Linked DNA regions of Homo sapiens: region 1 is linked to region 2. The links are contacts of gene promoters, found by promoter capture Hi-C in human tissues and cell types (Jung and others, 2019). All regions are on one chromosome and are shown on one strand. Each heading gives the region's core, a stretch centred on a gene start or on the middle of the fragment in contact. The rest is flanking DNA. Distances are from core to core; before and after follow the strand shown. Region 1 overlaps SLCO1B3-SLCO1B7 (SLCO1B3-SLCO1B7 readthrough). Region 2 holds the start of SLCO1B3 (solute carrier organic anion transporter family member 1B3).

Evidence for each region. Contacts are between HindIII fragments. The study calls those that stand out against the background at their distance.
Region 1: a contact is called between a fragment that was not itself captured here and the fragment with the promoter of SLCO1B3 in region 2, in 2 of the 25 tissues and cell types used here (dorsolateral prefrontal cortex and hippocampus).

What each region holds. Positions count from the first base shown.
Region 1 is chr12:21,078,611-21,084,600 of GRCh38, forward strand. The region is part of intron 15 of SLCO1B3-SLCO1B7 (SLCO1B3-SLCO1B7 readthrough); the gene reads left to right. Among named protein-coding and RNA genes, the nearest start is that of SLCO1B1, 50 kb to the right of the region's middle. The HindIII fragment of the contact is 4,453 bases long and covers 1,047-5,499 here.
Region 2 is chr12:20,808,011-20,814,786 of GRCh38, forward strand. It overlaps SLCO1B3 (solute carrier organic anion transporter family member 1B3), which reads left to right and starts at 2,695. Exons shown (of 16, transcript NM_019844.4): 1 at 2,695-2,754; 2 at 5,514-5,628. The HindIII fragment of the contact is 19,974 bases long and covers 1-6,776 here.

The sequences.
Region 1 (5,990 bases), core at 2,023-4,522, 270 kb after region 2:
TTATGTAAATTTCTGCAGCTGGCTTGAATTTCTCCGCAGAATATGGGTTTCTTTTCTACTGTATCATCAGGCTGCAAATTTTTCAAACTTTTATGCACCACTTCTTCTTGAACACTTTGCCACTTAGAAATTTCTTCCACCAGATACCCTAAATTATCTTTCTCAAGTTCAAAGTTCCACAGATCTCCAGGGTAGGGGCAAAATGTCACCCAACTCTTTGTATAGCAACAGTGACCTTTACTCCAGCTCCCAACAAGTTCCTCATCTCCATCTGAGACCACGTCAGCCTGGACTTTATCATCCATATCACTATCAGCATTTTGTTCAAAGCTATTCAACAAGACTCTTGAAAGTTTCAAACTTTCCCACATCTTCCTATTTTCTGAGCCCTCCAAGTCTCTAGGAAGTTCCAAAGTTTCCCACATTTTTCTGTCTTCTTCTGAGCCATCCAAACAATTCCAACCTCTGCCTGTTACCAAATTCCAAGGTTGCTTCCCCATTTTGGGATATCTTTACAGCAGTGCCCCCTTACCTGGTACCTATTTACTGTAGTAGTCCAGTCTCACACTGCTAATAAAGACATACTCAAGACTGGTAATTTATAAAGGAAAGAGGTTTAATTGACTTGCAGTTCTGGAGGGCTGGGGAGGCCTGGGTAAACTTAAAATCACAGCAGAAGGGAAAGCAAACACATCCTTCTGCACATGGCAGCAGCAAGAAGAAGTGCCAAGCAAAGAGGGAGAAAAGCACCTTATAAAACCATCAGGTCTCATGAGAACTCACTCACTACGAGAACAGTGTGGAGATAACCATCCCCATAATTCAGTTACCTCTCACTGGGTCCCTTCCACGACATTTGGGGATGATGGGAACTATAGTTTAAGATGAGATTTGGGTGGGGACACAACCAACCCATAACACCAAGTATGACCCAAATGCCCCAAATGATAATTAAAAAAAAAAAATGGTGGAAGGATTTTTATTGCTTTGGGTTTATACCCAGTAATACAATTAATGGGCTGAATGGTAATTTTGTTTTACATTCTCTGATAAACCACCAGACTGCTTTCTACAATGGCAGAACTAATTTACAATCCCACCAGTAATGTATGAGTGTTCCCTTTTTTTCACCACCTTGTCAGTATCTGTTATTTTTTTACTTGTTAACAATAGCCATTCTAACTGGTGTGAGATGGTATCTCATTGTAGTTTTGATTTGTATTTCTCTAATAATTAGTGATGTTGAATCATAAGTGAGCCTATGGAACAGAAAATCAAATACCACATGTTCTCTCTTTTAAGTGGGAGCTAAACATTGAGTACATATGGACACAAATAAGGGAACAAGAGACACTGGGGTCTGCTTGTGGGTGGAGGGTGAGAGGAGGGTGAAGATACAAAGCTACCTATAAGTGACTATGATTATTACCTGGGTGACAATAAGTCTGTACACCAAACCTGCATAGCATACAATTTACCTACATAACAAACCTGCACATGTACCCGTGAACCTAAAATAAATGTTAAAACAAAGAAGATAAAGAAAAGGAACAAATAATAAAATATTTTAAAAACTGCATCACCAGAACTTATTTTAAGTGAAATTCAACAGCAAAAGATAAATTAGAAGAATTTCTAAGTCAGACACAGACATAGGCAAATGTCCTATGTATATAAAAAGCTCTTAAAAATTAACAAAAACACCACCAAATGCTGGCAAGAATGAGATAACAGGAATTTTCTTTCATTGCTGGAGGTAATATAAAATGGTACAGCCATGTTGGAAGACAGAGTCAAAGTTTTTTAAAAGCAAAAGATAGATTTACTGTATGATTAAGCAATCATGCTCCCAGATATTTACCTAAATTAATTGGAAACATGTCCACAAAAAAAAACCCTGCATTTGAATGTTAAAAAGTGGAAGCATTTAAGATGTCCTTTAATAGGTAAACAAATAATTGAACTGTGGTACATTCATACAATGGAATATTAGTCATCAATGTATTAGTCCATTCTCAGGATGCTATAAAGAACTACCTGAGACTGGGTAATTTATGAAGAAAACAGGATTAATTCATTCACAGTTCAACAGGCTTTACAGGTAGCATGACTGGGAGGCCTCAGGAAACTTACAGTCATGGCACAAGGCGAAGGGGAAACAAAGCATATCTTCTCATGGCAACAGGAGAGAGAGAGAGAGAGCGCAAAAGTGGAAGTACCACACACTTCTAAACCATCAGATCTCATAACTCACTCACTATCTTGAGACCAGAAAGGGGGAAATCCACCCCCCATAATCCAGTCATCTCCCACCAGGCCCCTCCTCCAATTTGGCATGATATTTGGGCAGAGACACAAATCCAAATCACATCAATCAATTAAAAAAAAATGAGCTATCAATCTACAAAAAGAAAGAAAGGAAAATTAAATGTGTAAATAAAAGAAGGCAGCCTACAAAGCTTCAGATTGTATAATTTTAACTGTATAACTTTGTAGAAAAGGCAAAACAATGGGCAATGAAAAGATCAGTTGTTTCTTGGGGCTCAGTGGGGAAAAGGAATGGATGAATAGGTCTGAATAGGTCTGACACAAGACATTTTTTGGGCTAGTGAAACTATTCTATATGATATTATAATGTTGCATCATAATATGCATTTGCCAAACCTTTGGAAATTTACAACATAGAAAGTGAACTCTAATGTAAAATATGGACTTAATAATGTATCGGTATTCTTTCATCATTTGGAACAAATGTGCTGTACTAATACAAGGGGTTAATGATAGGAGAAACTGTGCGTATGTTGGGCAGGGAGCCCTCCATACTTTCTGTACAGTTTTCTGTAAAACTAAAATTGCTATAAGATATAGGAACTAGTAAAGAAAAAAAATCATCAAACATTTTCCAAAAAAGTCACTAGAGGTTATGAAACATGAAAATATGAACATCATTTTTTTATTCATTGACAATAAGAGAATTGCAATTAAAAGTCACCCAGATTGTCAACAAAGGTGTTGATTGGAGATTGTGTTTGCAAAGTAAATGACTTTGAGCCAGTGGGAGTACTTCTAGGAATTTATCCTCTAGCAAGCTATATTCCCAAAATACTGAAAACAATGTAAATATCAATCAATAAGTTATCAAATAGTGACACATGCAGGCAAATGAATATTCTGAGTTCTTAAAAAAAGAAGAAACGAGATATGTATTTTCTAATATGGACCCTATTCACAATATATTGTTACATTAAAAAAAAGGACAAAGCAGGAAGAATACGTGGAGCATGCTATTGTTTATGTAAAGTGGGGAATGTTTCTTAGTTCAGGTGAAATCCCTGGAGAAAACTCCCTGGGTCAAATTTACTAGAACCTTCTCTTACTTAATATGTAAATTCACTATCAAACATTCCCAACAAGTAATGATCCAGCTTTTCCTGGAATTGTAGTAAAGCAGCATTCACTACCCCACATTCTCCTAACTTTAAGTCTTATTATATAAAATGTCTTCCTAAATGGTAGATTTTATTTCCACGAATAAAAGTATGGAAAGAAATAAAAAAGCAACACTTACTAAATTTACTTTAATGACATTATGTTAAGAAAGTGTTTATTTCTGTCTGTTTGTTTGCTTTTTGAGACTGAGTCTCGCTCTGTTGGCCAGGCTGGAGTGCAGTGGCGCAATCTCGGCTCACTGCAAGCTCTGCCTCCAGGATTCACACCATTCTCCTGCCTCAGCCTCCCAAGTAGCTGGGACTACAGGCGCCTGCCACCAGGCCCGGCTAATATTTTGTATTTTTAGTAGAGACGGGGTTTCACCGTGTTAGCCAGGATGGTCTCAATCTCCTGACCTCATGATACACCCGCCTAGGCCTCCCAGAGTGCTGGGATTACAGGTGTGAGCCACTGTGCCCGGCCGAAAGTGTTTATTTTTATTTGGAATTATAACTCATTTTAGGACAACTGTCAAGATGCTCCTCAGAATCTCCCCAAAGCAATGATCACCAAGTCCAAGCATTAACATCACATTTTAGGATAGCATTACTTTAGTTACTTTAGTTTCAGTATGAAAAGACTTCTAAAACAATTTTTTAAAAAACCCATATTAGTTTCTTTTCCTTTAGTGAAGGTTTTGGTAGAACTAAAAGGAAATGTGTGTGTGTGTGTGTGTGTGTGTGTGTGTGTTGTGTACACCCACACATATATATGTATGTGTGTATGTAAGTGGGAAGCAACAGAAGAGGTCAGAGGGATGTGATGTGAGAACGACTATGCATATTGTTGCCGGTTTTGAAGTTGAAGGAAACGGCCCAGAAGCCAAGGAATGTAGGTCGCCTCTAGAAGTGGGAAAAGACAAGGAAACAGGTTGTAGAGCTTACAGAAAAAAAATGCAGGGCTAGGCGCGGTGGCTTATACCTGTAATCTCAGCACTTTGGGAGGCCAAGGAAGGTGGATCACTTGAGGTCAGGAGTTAGAGACCAGCTTGGCCAACATGGTGAGACCCCGTCTCTACTAAAAAATACAAAAATTAGCCTGGCATGGTGGCAGGTGCCTGTAATCCCAACTACTCAGGATGCTGAGGTAGGAGAATCACGGGAACCTGGGAGGTGGACGTAGCAGTGAGCCAAGATCTTGCCACTGTAGTCTAGCATGGGCAACAGAGTGAGACTCCATCTCAAAAATAAATAAATAATAAAATAAAATAAAAAGATGCAGCTCTATCAATACCTTGATTTTAGCCAATTAAGGCAAGTGTTAGGCTTCTGACATCCAGTGCATGCTTCAAGCTTATCTCATACACCCTTTCTTCAAAAGTTTGCACCACTTCAGCCAGCTAGAAATAACCATCCCTCTTTACAACTCTCCTGGCATATTGTAGCTGACACATGGCCCTTACTACTTTTATTTTAGTCACCTGTGTTCACTGCTGGATTGGTTAAAGTGGACATTTTTAAAAGAGCAGTTATTTGCCAATTAATACAACAGTTAAATGGTTATCTTATGATTATTAAAGGACTTTATTTTTTAGAATAGTTTTAGAATCGCAGTACAATTGAGGAGAAAGCACAGAGATTTCCCATATCCTGCCTGCTCCCACACATGCATAGCCTTGCCCGTTATCAACATCTCCCATCAGGGTGGTAGATTTGTTACAATTGACAACCCATATTGACATATCTTTATCACTCATGGTCTGTTCCATTGGTCTATATCTCTGTTTTGGTACCAGTACCATGCTGTTTTGGTTACTGTAGCCTTGTAGTATAGTTTGAAGTCAGGTAGGGTGATGCCTCCAGCTTTGTTCTTTTGGCTTAGGATTGACTTGGTATGCAGGCTCTTTTTTGGTTCCATATGAACTTTAAAGTAGTTTTTTCCAATTCTGTGAAGAAAGTCATTGGTAGCTTGATGGGGATGGCATTGAATCTGTAAATTACCTGGGGCAGTATGGCCATTTTCACGATATTGATTCTTCCTACCCATAAGCAGGGAATGTTCTTCCATTTGTTTGTATCCACTTGTATTTCCTTGAGGAGTGGTTTGTAGTTCTCCTTGAAGAGGTCCTTCACATCCCTTGTAAGTTGGATTCCTAGGTATTTTATTCTCTTTGAAGCAATTGTGAATGGGAGTTCACTCATGATTTGGCTCTCTGTTTGTCTGTTATTGGTGTATAAGAATGCTTGTGATTTTTGTACATTGATTTTGTATCCTGAGACTTTGCTGAAGTTGCTTATCAGCTTGAGGAGATTTTGGGCTGAGACAATGGGGTTTTCTAGATATACAATCATGTCTTCTGCAAACAGAGACAATTTGACTTCCTCTTTTCCTAATTGAATACCCTTTATTACCTTCTCCTGCCTGATTGCCCTGGCCAGAACTTCCAACACTCTGTTGAATAGGAGTGGTGAGAGAGGGCATCCCTGTCTTGTGCCAGTTTTCAAAAGGAATGCTTCCAGTTTTTGCCCATTCAGTATGATATTGGCTGTGGGTTTGTCATA
Region 2 (6,776 bases), core at 1,445-3,944:
TGTATTTTTAGTAGAGAGGGAGTTTTACCGTGTTAGCCAGGATGGTCTCCATCTCCTGACCTCGTGATCCGCCTGCCTCGGCCTCCCAAAGTGCTGGAATTACAGGTATGAGCCACCGCGCCTTGCCCCTACCTTCTTATGGTGGTGACTGACATTAAGAGAGAGAATTGCCATAAGATTAGTCATAATGATACCAGAGCTTTGACCCTTAGTGGGTATGGAGACATGGGGGTTCTTTCCAGGGAGTGCAGCTTTCTGTAATTACGTCTTGACCAGCTAAGGAAGGTGGGGTGGGTAGGCAATGGCAGGTCTGCTTTGAGCCTGAAGTTTCCTTCTGGGAATACGCACCCAGTACCCATCTGAGAACTCAGACTAAAAACTATTAGGAAAAATTGCTGGGGACGTGTTTCAGAGACTTGACTTTTACTCTTGTAATATGAATTAACTGCTTTAAAAATGGACAATATGCAAATGCCATACAATGACTCTATTTAGGTATGGAATCTATAATGTGCCAGGTACTGGGTGAGGCAGTTTACACAGAGCAAATCTTTATTACAACTATAGCCTTCCCACTTAATGGATGAAAGCATAGATACTTAGAATGGTGAAACAACTTAGGAAATTTATACTGCTGTCAAGTAGCAGAGACATTGGTATCAAAGTTTATCAAACTTCAAAGCCCATAATATTTCATCAGAACTGTGATGATTATTGCGGCAACAAACAGCAGATTGTTTTAAGCAAATTTGGAGTTGTATTGATCCACAGCTGTTAGCATAATATTTATCTTGAAAAAAAGTGTTGCAATGTGTTTCCTCTGACCACTCTTATTTTTTCCACAAGTCCCACAAAAAGGGAAGTCTAATTACTTACATAGGAAGAAAAAAGGGCACAGAGAATGCTCTTTGACTTCTGAAAACATTCCAGAATTTTACCACTGATAGCGTTAGTTTAGGGATTAGAAAGTTTCTCAGTGCATTTGTACTATTTTATCTTCATTCTATGCATGTATTTGTCCCAAATGAAATTGATGTGTCTTGAATGAAATGGATGTGTGAGGAGAAAACCATTAGCATGAGAATATCCAAACTGTCTTCCCATTCTGAATAAAAGAAAAGCCATAAAACTGATAATTAATGTTTAGTATCTCTGCTATGATGGTTCTCAAAAGCTGACAGTATGTAAAAATTATTCTAAGTGCTTATTTAAAAAGCATAATCTCCGAACTCGTGAATCAGAATCTCTTGGGTGTGGGGCTGGATCGCACTTTTGACAAAGGCTCCCCAGTAGATTTTGACTCAACAGAGGGGTGTTTGGGAGCCTATATCTAATTTTCCCTGCCCCAGGTCTACACTTCAGTGTTCCCCACATTTTCTAATCCTTCTCTCCCTCCACACTCCGGTTCCTTTCATTATTCTAATACTTCCATGAATTAACCAGGTATAGAACTAATCTAGGCTGGGCGCAGTGGCTCACGCCTGTAATCCTAGCACTTTGGGAGGCCGAGGTGGGCAGATCACGAGGTCAGGAGATCGAGACCATCCTGGCTAACATGGTGAAACCCCGTCTCTACTAAAAATACGAAAAAATTAGCCGGGCGTGGTGGCGGGCGCTTGTAGTGCCAGCTACTCGGGAGACTGAGGCAGGAGAATGGCGTGAACCCGGGAGGCGGAGCTTGCAGTGAGCCGAGATCGTGCCGCTGCACTCCAGCCTGGGTGACAGAGCAAGACTCCGTCTCAAAAAAAAAAAAAAAAACTAGTTTATCAAATAACTGTGATATAGAAATTAAATACATATTGCTGCAACTGTATCAACAACTGTCCTGTCAGTGATAAGGGGTAACAATGTTTTCATACATGCATTCTCTCTTTGCTATATACATACACACATACACATAAATACATATATACATACACTCATGCATGTGTGTGTATATATACATGTGAGAGAAGACTCCGTTTATTATTTATATTTTTATAGTACACTTCTAAAACACAGCCATGTGCCTGAGATATAGTAGGGAGTCAAATATGTTTGAGTTACTGAATTAATTAATTTGACTTCATCCTTACTCAAGAAAAGTTTCAACTGAGTGAAGGTCTTCCATTCTCTAAAGAGCAAGTCAATAGAAGGAGATCATTCTTCCTTTACACATTGATGTAAGGAATATATCATACAAACTAGTCTTGATTTTTGTCATTTAGAAGACTAGTCTTGTAATTAATTGGCAATTTAGTATTCCATGTGAGATATCCAGTGTCCATGTACGTCATATTAGATCCATACACATGTAACAAGCAAAGAGGGTATGTTTTATTTTTTGAATGCTAATGTAACATGTAGGGACATTTTAAAAAATCGCCTTGACATATTTTCTATTTGGAATAGTTTTAAATACTTTGGATAATGTGTTGTATTTGTATTTCTAAAGAAGAAAATCTTATGCAACCAACTTAATTGAATAAGAAATAAATCATTCCCAGAAATAATTTATTTTCTAATGTTAACATAATGTGTACATTCTGAGAAATTATTAATAAAATGTTTAAAAGATAGGCTTCTGGGGTGAACTCCTAGAATTAGCTAGGTATGTTTTTTCTGTTTGCCTAGGACAATGACCTAATAAGATGGTTAATCATCATTGGACTCATAAAAACAAACAAATAAAAAGCCAACTAACCATTTAAAGTGAGACTTTAACATCAGAAAAAGGATGGACTTGTTGCAGTTGCTGTAGCATTCAAAGTCAAGGTAAGAACCGTCGAGGTTGTCTAATTAAAACATTTCTTTTATGTAAGAAATTTTAACAAATTTCAGTGAAAATGTTTTTGGTAGTTATGATAAATATTACAGATTTTATGCTCTGTGTCTTCTCCACACTTTTGTTCTGAGCCCTTAAAGCCTTGTAAATATCCCTTCTAGAAATAGAAGAGCCTCAGATTTATATACTCAAAAATAAGAGTAAATCATACCTTTATAAAGTGAAAAATAAAGTTTGGAGTCCTATTTCTATTGCTTTCTAAACAAATGAAACATGAAGTCTGAAAGGATGGACTTCTAGTTACTCTCTTAAAATATACTATAAGATAATTATTTGTATAAACTGTATTGAATTACTATACCAGGCTCCCTATTTCTTTGATTTCACTTTAACTGGATAAGTAGGAGTGGGCGGGTGGAGGGGTGGAAAATATGTTTCAAAGTCACTTAATCACCTCACTTTCCTCCATTCAACTCGTTTGATTTAGGGTGAGGGGAAAGAGATTTTCTAGATAACTTTTTTATCTCTGTTCAAATAAGAGAAAAAAATCTTCTGGGCACAGCTCTTGGAAAGAATTAACAGCTCAATAAATAATGGTCCCCTTCACCCATTCAGGAAGGTGGCTTCCCTGATAAGACAGTTATTTTTATTGTGAAAGTAAGGTGGGGATGCAGAAATTCTCTCCTCTGAACAATCTAAGAAGTTAGGAAATGCTGTTTTCCCTTTTATCCTCCTCAGTTCCATAGGTACATGCTAGAAACTGGGTCACTTGGCCTGCACTGGTTTTCTATAACCCCTTAAATATGAAAAGCTAAACAGAAATAAGCAGAGGCTGGTAAGATTCTGCCCTCTACTTCAGCCCAATCAAACTGTGAAGAACTGACCTGTTCTGTTCAGGGAAGAGTTGCAATGCTGCATACAAATGCCTGTGGCTCTGTCTATAAACATATTGTGTCCTCAACATTTATTTATGTCAATAATTTGGAACTCAGAAATAATATGTTCAGAGCAAAATATATTAAACGCTTCTAAATAAGGCTTAAAATGCCACAATGAAGTAAAAAGTGTGGTATTTATTCAAGGCTAAATTGATATTCAAGTTTTGTAGGTACTTTGTACTTACTTGATACATTTTTTTTTTTTTTTTTTTGAGAAGGAGTTTCGCTCTTGTTGCCCAGGCTGGAGTGCAATGGCGTGATTTCAGCTCACCACAACCTCAGCCTCCTGGGTTCAAGTGATTCTCCTGCCTGAGCTTCCAGAGTAGCTGAGATTACAGGCATGTACCACCACACCCAGCTAATTTTGTATTTTTGGCAGAAATGGGGTTTCTCTGTGTTGGTCAGGCTGGTCTCGAACTCCCAACCTCAGGTGATCTGCCCGCCTCGGCCTCCCAAAGTGCTGGGATTACAGGCATGAGTCACTGCTCCCGGCCTACTTGATACAATTTAACCTTTCTGAGAGATGAGAAACCAAGTGCCCACATTTCTTATTTTTCTGGATGGGTATTTTATCTGAACATAAAAGAGAGAGGTGTGGAATAGTTGTCTTGGAAAGTACGGGAAATAACAGAAAAAAGTAATGATTATTCGGGTATGTTCTCCAGTGGTACAGAAGGATGAGAGGATGAGAGAGTTTATTTCAACTAGAGGTAAATAGGGAAACATTAAAGTGGTGTGATTTGGAGCCGCATTACAGCCAAGAGATAGGGAAGGACATTCCAGGAATGGAAGACATATACATGAAGGTAGAGAGCTTTTCTGTTGGGACAGTGGTTCCATACATCTGCAAGTGCTTATGGTTGTATTGGGAAATGGGACTAAAAACTTGGATTCATTTAGGCTGTGAAGACCCTCAAATAGGAAGTGTAAGTTTTATTTTTGTTGTAAGAGGGATCTTTGAATGATTCCAAGAATGGACATGATATGCATAGGAAAGAAAGCAAGCTGGAAGACAGGACAAGTAGAAATTAATCAATTGAAAGAAACAAGGCTTGAGTGGTGAGATAATAGTCTTCAAGCCTTCAAGAATATTTGTTTAGTATAAAGAAAAAGAAAACTCTAAAGCTGAAGGAAGACTATCTGCCTTGCAAGTCGTTCAAAAAGATTTGCAATTATAGAATTAATTGGTAAAAAATAAATATTTTCCAACTTTTAAATTATGAAGAAACAGAGATATTCGTGGAAAAAGTGGTGTAAATTTATTAAGGGGCTGCTTATTACCTTGAGACCACCAAATTATTGATTTTTTTCCTCACTTTACCTACAAAACACATACAAAAAGTGGAATAATTGAACTTCTCTTAGAGATACATAGGTATGGGTTTCTCCATTCATGAGTGTATTTATATACACTCGCATATACATAAGTGATAATATCTTCAGATATTGATTTTTCCATATTCATGCATTATCCACTAAATATGCATGATATATATTTATGGTTTTTATGCATTTATAATATAGAGAATCAATAAATCCTTGTTGAGTAAATTAATGCATAAAATATGCAGTAGATCTTCATTATTCACAGATTCTATATTAGAAAATTTGTCTAAACACTAAAATTTGTTTGTGACACCAAAATTAATACTGCTGGGCTTTTGTGATCATTGGCATGCATGAGCAGAGTGGTGAAAAATTTGAGTTGCTCTGTTTCCAGTTGAAGTGGAACAAAGTGAAGCTCTGCCTTCCTCTCTCAGCTCCCATACTATAAACTTCACAGTGCATTTATCGCCACATTGTTTCCATAGTTGTGCTTTGCGATGCTGAGTTTACTGTTTTAAATGGACTTCAAGCATAGCCCTGAAGTGTTGTCCCGTTGTTCCCACCTCCTAGAGGGCCTGACAGAAGAGGTACATATGCTATGTAAGTTTCCCTCAGGCATGAACTACAGTGCTATTGGCCACTAATTCAATGTTAATGAATCAACAGTATATACTAAGGTGTCTTTAAACAAAAACATACATAAAACATTATGTATTAAGTTATGTATTGATCCGTTGATTAAAATATTGTGACCAAAGCCACACAGTCACCTAACACTGTATCTCTTCTAGGAATGATGGATTAATATTTGCAAATTCAGTGTTCCCAGCAACTTTATGGAACATAATTATTGCAAAACGTGAGAATCAATTGTACATATAACCTATATCATACATATTATATAATCAGTATCCTATTACAAATCGGATGCTTATATAGATAACATTGATATTTACATACTTAGATATTTACATATCTAAGGTATCTATATGAGCAGCTACATAGCAAGTATCTACATAGCATGTATCCACATATATATGCTATATACATAACATATACCTATATCTATGTTATGTGTCTGCTTATATACTTTATATACATAAATATGTGTTATGCATATATGTATGAACAAGAATACATCTCTAAACCTTATAAATATTCCACTGTTCTATATAAAAGAGTCAACTGACGTAAAAAGTTGACTCATTTTACTGGTCTTTAAAATAGGGGCTTAATAACTCTGAAACTTATGATTTCTCATATACTTTGACTTCAAAACTTCACTTGTAGGAATTTATCCTACAGATATGACCACACAGAAAATGACATATAACATATTAAGAACATTTTCTAATATGAAATAATTAGATATAAGCTAAATAGTTAACGATATAGAACTAGTTACATATATTATGAACAACAGAATACCCTGCTACCATAAGCAAAATGAGGACTTTTATTAATATAAAGTATATACAGAAGATAAAAAGGTAGAGTGCAGTAATACTGGTATGCTTACATTTATATTAAAAGAGAAAATATTATGTATTTAATTAAAAATGCATATTAAGGCTGGGCGCGGTGGTTCACGCCTGTAATCCCAGCACTTTGGGAGGCCGAGGCGGGCGGATCAGGAGGTCAGGAGATCGAGACCATGCTGGCTAACACGGTGAAACCCTGTCTCTACTAAAAATACAAAACAATTAGCCGGGCGTTGTGGCACGCACCTGCGCCTGTGGTCCCAGCTA